Regions from separate parts of the Homo sapiens genome. Here region 2 is linked to region 1. Evidence: promoter capture Hi-C in 16 types of primary human blood cells and fetal thymus (Javierre and others, 2016). All regions are on one chromosome and are shown on one strand. Each heading gives the region's core, a stretch centred on a gene start or on the middle of the fragment in contact. The rest is flanking DNA. Distances are from core to core; before and after follow the strand shown. Region 1 holds the start of SULT2A1 (sulfotransferase family 2A member 1). Region 2 overlaps KPTN (kaptin, actin binding protein).

What was found. Contacts are between HindIII fragments. The CHiCAGO score rates a contact against its expected background, and 5 or more counts as called.
Region 2: a fragment that was not itself captured here is called in contact with the fragment with the promoter of SULT2A1 in region 1 in 1 of 17 cell types (endothelial precursors); the score reaches 6.6 in endothelial precursors.

The regions. Positions count from the first base shown.
Region 1 is chr19:47,885,005-47,887,688 of GRCh38, forward strand. SULT2A1 (sulfotransferase family 2A member 1) reads right to left here and starts at 1,311. Exons shown (of 6, transcript NM_003167.4): 1 at 1,118-1,311. The coding sequence starts at 1,253. The HindIII fragment of the contact is 7,780 bases long and covers 1-1,621 here.
Region 2 is chr19:47,473,860-47,476,543 of GRCh38, forward strand. It overlaps KPTN (kaptin, actin binding protein), which reads right to left. Exons shown (of 12, transcript NM_007059.4): 11 at 2,673-2,684; 12 at 1,291-1,685. The coding sequence ends at 1,557. Among named protein-coding and RNA genes, the nearest start is that of SLC8A2, 3.3 kb to the left of the region's middle. The HindIII fragment of the contact is 1,285 bases long and covers 675-1,959 here.

The DNA of each region.
Region 1 (2,684 bases), core at 61-2,560:
TTTGCCATGTTGGCCAGGCTGGTGTCGAACTCCTGACCTCAGGCAATCCACCTGCCTTGACCTCCCAAAGTGCTGGGATTACAGGTATGAGCCACCATGCCCAGCCTGTCAACCACTTTTAAGCCTACGGTTTCGTAGTGTTAAGTGTTAAGTATATTCCCAGTGCTGCTCAACCAATCTCCAGAGGATTTTTGTGTTGCAAAACCGAAACTCTATGCAGAGCCAGCACCGACTCCCCATTTACCCTTCTCTTCAGCCCCTGGCAGCCGCCAGTGTACTTTCTGTTTCTATGGACTTGATGACTCCAGGTACCTTATGTAAGTGGAATCACACACTATTTGTATTTTTGTGACTGGCTTATTTCATTTAGCATAATGTCCTTGATGTTTATCTCTGTTGTATCATGCATCAGAATTTTCTTCCTTCTCAAGGATGAATAACATTCCATTATAGCTATATACCACATTTTGTTTATTCACTCACCTGTCAGTGGATATCTGGGTTGCTTCCATCTTTTGGCTATTTGCTGAAATCCCTCTTATTATGTTCCCATTGCTCTTGGCCTCTCAGGGCCATGCCACTTCCAATGTCTTCAGCCTCAATCCTCACCGCATCCGCAGTGCTCTTACCGCCCTCCACCCACAGCCCCACTCCCAGAGACATATGATCCTCATCTTTCAGCCCCTTGAGATTGCCTGGCTCTTTTGTGGTTCCTGGCCATTGCCCTGATGATTCTCCTATCTGAAAATAGCCCTCCCCCCAAGTAATTTCATACTCATTCTTTGCATTTCCATTTAAATGCTATTTCTTCTTTCAGGACATCATTGGTCATCCTCAGCCATCCTCCCTCCCACTGCCACCAAACAAACACCTGAATTTGCCTTGGGATTCACTCCTGTGGATTCTCCTAATACCTTAGATTACCCCTCTGAACACTCATCCTACTGTGTAATTTCCTGACTAAATCCTTTTCTCTGATTGTCAATGGTATTAGGCATTCCTCTCTTCCCCTTAAAGCATTGTACACTGTCTGACATAAAGGAAGAACTCCAATCATGCACTGAATGGACAGGAACACAACCACAGCCTTTCTCAGTTCACGATTCTGCCTCCTTACCTGATTTGGGGTAAGTCAATATTATTACATCTTCATCCCTTATCACGAACTCATCACGTACTTTTCTTAAGGTTTCGGATCTGAAACCCATAGTAGGGAAAGCTATGCCTTCAAACCATAAGAAATCGTCCGACATGATGATGACCTCTTCCTGCGTGGTGTGAGGGTTTCAACTGTAGCCACCGCTGGAGGCTGTGGCAGCTACAGGCAGATCAGCTTTTACAGCAAGGATAAAACGATCTTTAACCTTGTCCCAGCATGTCACATGTTTGTTGTAAAGTTTACTTGCTGATAAAGAGAGGTATAATGTGACCCATACTCAAAAGATTGAAGATGTTGAGCAATCATGAACTTATCTAGAGACCATTTTAGGGGTCATCTGAGCTTGCGTTCCTGAGAGTGAACTGCAAGATCGAATAACAAACACGAGGACAAATATTTTTTTTGATAATATGGGTGAATTTATTTCTTAAGGTTTGAGTGCAAACTTAAAAACAAGAACAAAGCTTTTCATCAAGCATAAACACAAAATCTAAATAATCCTGCAATCGTGCATTTTAACAGAAAGTACAAATATGAATACATTATAATTTGTAACTGCATTTAAAAATTAAAATATGTCTCTCCAAATCCAAAAGACCACACAGTCTTTATCTGTTCTCATCTTGTTACCTTAGAAACATTTGTCATATGCTCTCAGGAAAATATAGGCAAGAATTACTAATCAGTTATTCACGATCAAAGAAACATTATTCTCCCTGAGACTTTTTGAATCATTTATCTGTATTTCTGAAGTATCACACAATTATACCTCCACTCTAGAGAAAAAAAGAGTAAGTACAAATATTAGCAGTGTATATATTGTAGTAAATTTTTAAAGTACAACTTTAGTTGATGGCTGACGTGTATGTAATAATTGTGAACAATTTAAACGGTATAAAAATGTGAGATGAAAATCTTTAGACTCAAATACTTGAAAAGTCACTATGAATATGGAAAGATTTGTTTGCATAAACATGTATGTTTTTAGATGGAAAATCAAGAGGTAGTGGCATCTCCCTGTTTCCTTAATAATATTTGGATTTTCACAAAGAATTGGCAGCACCCAACCTTAAGTGTTAATTATGTGTTTGTTTGTTTTTTTTTTTTTTTTGAGATGGAGTCTCACTCTGTCGTCCAGGCTGGAGTGTAGTGGCGCGATCTCGGCTTGCTGCAAGCTCTGCCTACTGGGTTCATGCCATTCTCCTGCCTCAGCCTCCAGAGTAGCTGGGACTACAGGTGCCCGCCACCACGCCCAGCTAATTTTTTGTATTTTTAGTAGAGACGGGGTTTCACCGTGTTAGCCAGGATGGTTTCAATCTCCTGACCTTGTGATCCGCCACGCCCAGCCTAATTATGTGTTTCTAAAGGACCTATACAACAGATCAGTTGGCAGTGTTCTAGCTTTAGGGAGATGGGGGTGGATTGGGGGTGCAAATATCTGAGATAAGATAATGCATGCACTCACACATTTAAAATCACCATTCTAAATGGGAAAAAAAAATCACATATTGGGAAAGTCCAAGAA
Region 2 (2,684 bases), core at 67-2,566, 410 kb before region 1:
AGTGGACCTCCATAGCGGGAGGTAGACAGATGGCCAAAATGACTACGGTGTCTGCCTCTCCCCTGAACCCCCAGGAAGCAGATGTCCTGCCCAACCCCTGCCCCCAGCCTGGATACGGCCCAGGGAATGATCATCCCCCAACCCTGCTGACCCAGATTCTATTCCTGGCCTGCAGTGGACGGAGGACAAGACTTCCATCGTTCCCACCCTCCACTGATCCTAGAGACACAGGCCTCTGATTCCTTCTCCTGGTAATACAGAACGGAGCACAGGAGGCCGGGCTCAGTGACTCACGCCTGTCATCCCAGCACTTTGGGAGGCCGAGGCGGGCAGATCACCTGAGGTCAGGAGTTTGAGACCAGCCTGGCCAACACGGTGAAACCCTGTCTCTACTAAAAATACAAAAAAATTAGCCAGGCGTGGTGGCGTACGCTTGTAATCCCAGCTACTCAGGAGGCCGAGGCAGGAGAATCGCTTGAACCAGGAGGTGGAGGTTGCAGTGAGCCGAGATCGCGCCACTGCACTCCAACCAGTGCATCAGAATGAGACTCCGTCTCTCACACACACACAAAAGACCACAGGCAAGGCAACTCCTACCACCACAGGCTGGGAGAATCAGGCTTGTCTCCCACTCCCTGGGCCCCCAACCCCCTAGGCTTTTTAGATTAGGTCTAAGCTTAGCCCTTTCCAGCATGGTCTAGCCTGGGTCTTCTCCCTGGGTCTTGCCTCAGTGCTCTCCACTGGGAACTAAGCTCACTTTCTGCTGGGGTTTAACCCTGGCCCCTTGCACAGGATCTGGCCATAGCAATTTTTTGTTGGGGTCCAACCTCAGCATTATTCATAGGGAGTCTAGCCTCAGACCCTCTGCTACAAATGGACCACTGCTTTCCCACAGCAGCCCTTTCTACCCACAAGTTTTCCTCTAAACGCTCAAGCTCCTTACCTTTCCACTGGGATCTACCCTTAGATCTAGATCTTTCCACTGGGGTCTCATGTCAGCTCTCTCCACTAGGGTCTAACCTCAGCTCTTTCCCTTCCATTTTACGTAATCTGTTCCACAGTGGTTTAACTTTTAGCCTTTCTGCTAAGGTGTCACCCCATTTCTTTCTCTTGGGTTCTACCCTGGGATCTAACCTCCGGCCTGTATCTGGGTCTAGCCTTGGATTCCCTCTCCCCCAAATCCCTCTCCCTCAATTCCTCTGGGTGAATCCAGCATCCAACACAGAGCCAGGCATACAGCAGGTGCTCACCAAATGCTTGCCGAAAAAAAGAATCGAGACAACTGGGAAATGATGTTCTTCTGGACGTATAAATAACCATCAGGTGGCCAATTCTCATCCAGAGTGGACAGGGTGGAATGGGATCATCCCTGCTTTCAAATAGGGACATTGACGTACAGAGAGAGGAGTGGGTTAGCTGGGGCCCCAGGGCACAGCTTCACCACCCTGGGGAGGTCTGGGGAGAGCATCCTGTCCTTCAGGACACCCCCCACCAGCGGCTGGAGGTGAGCACGCCATGAGTCGCCCCAGGTCTGGGAAGAGTGGGTGCATGGGTGCTTAAGAGGCTGCATTCTCAGCAGGCCCTGCACCTGCCCCGTCCTCCAACCCCTGTAGCCGACGTCTCCTCTGCTCCACTTGATGTCGAAGCCGGGTCAAGACCAGCTCTGAGGCCTGAATCAGGCTGTGCTGTGGGGAACAAGAGAATGAGGGGGATGGAGCTGAGGAAGAGCTGTGGGACCACAGCGGGACCGTCTGGAGTGAAGCAACTCCAAAGGCCAGGAGCTCGGCCCACGTGGGAGGGCAGAGAGCAGACCACAGTGTGTGGGATGGGAATGGGCCTCTGTGACAGGGGTGAAGGGGAGTGGCCTTAAGCGAATTTCTAGTGGGAGGGACAAAGCCTAGACCCAAATGTAAGGAAGTGAGATTAGAAGGAATATAAAAGGAATATAAAATTTAGCCAAGCTTGGTGGCAGGTGCCTGTCATCCCAGCTACTAGGGAGGCTGAGGCAGGACAATCACTTGAACCTGGAAGGTGGAGGTTGCAGTGAACTGAGATCACACCACTGCACACCAGCCTGGGAAACTGCACTCCAGCCTGGGAAACAGAGCAAGACTCTGTCTCGAAAACAAACAAACAAACAAAAAAACCAAAAAAAAAAAAAAAAAGGCCAGGGTGTGGTGGCTCACACCTGTAATCCTAGCACTTTGGGAGGCCGAGGTGGGCGGATGACTTGAGGCCAGAAGTTTGAGACTAACCTGGGCAACATGGTGAAACTCCGTCTCTACTAAAAATACAAAAATTAGCTGGGCGTGGTGGCGTGCGGCTGTATTTCCCAGCTGCTTGAGAGGCTGAGGCATGAGAATTGTTTGAACCTGGGAGGTGGAGGTTGCAGTGAGCTGAGATCGAGTCACTGCGCTAGAGCCTGGGTGACAGAGCAAGACTCTGTCTCAAAAATAAAATAATAAATAAATAAATAAATCTCCTTCACCAGGCCGGTGCCCCCACCCCAGCTGCTGTGAGCGCTCACAGCTGCCCCTTTCTCCTGGGAGTTGTCCTGACTGGTAGGAACTGCCTCCCTGAAATGAGTTCCTCCCTCCCCCAGGAGGAGGCCTGCACCCCCTGCTCGAAACTGCTGAGGTCGACTCCCCTCCCACCCCAAGAGCTGGGGATACCTGCAGGATGTG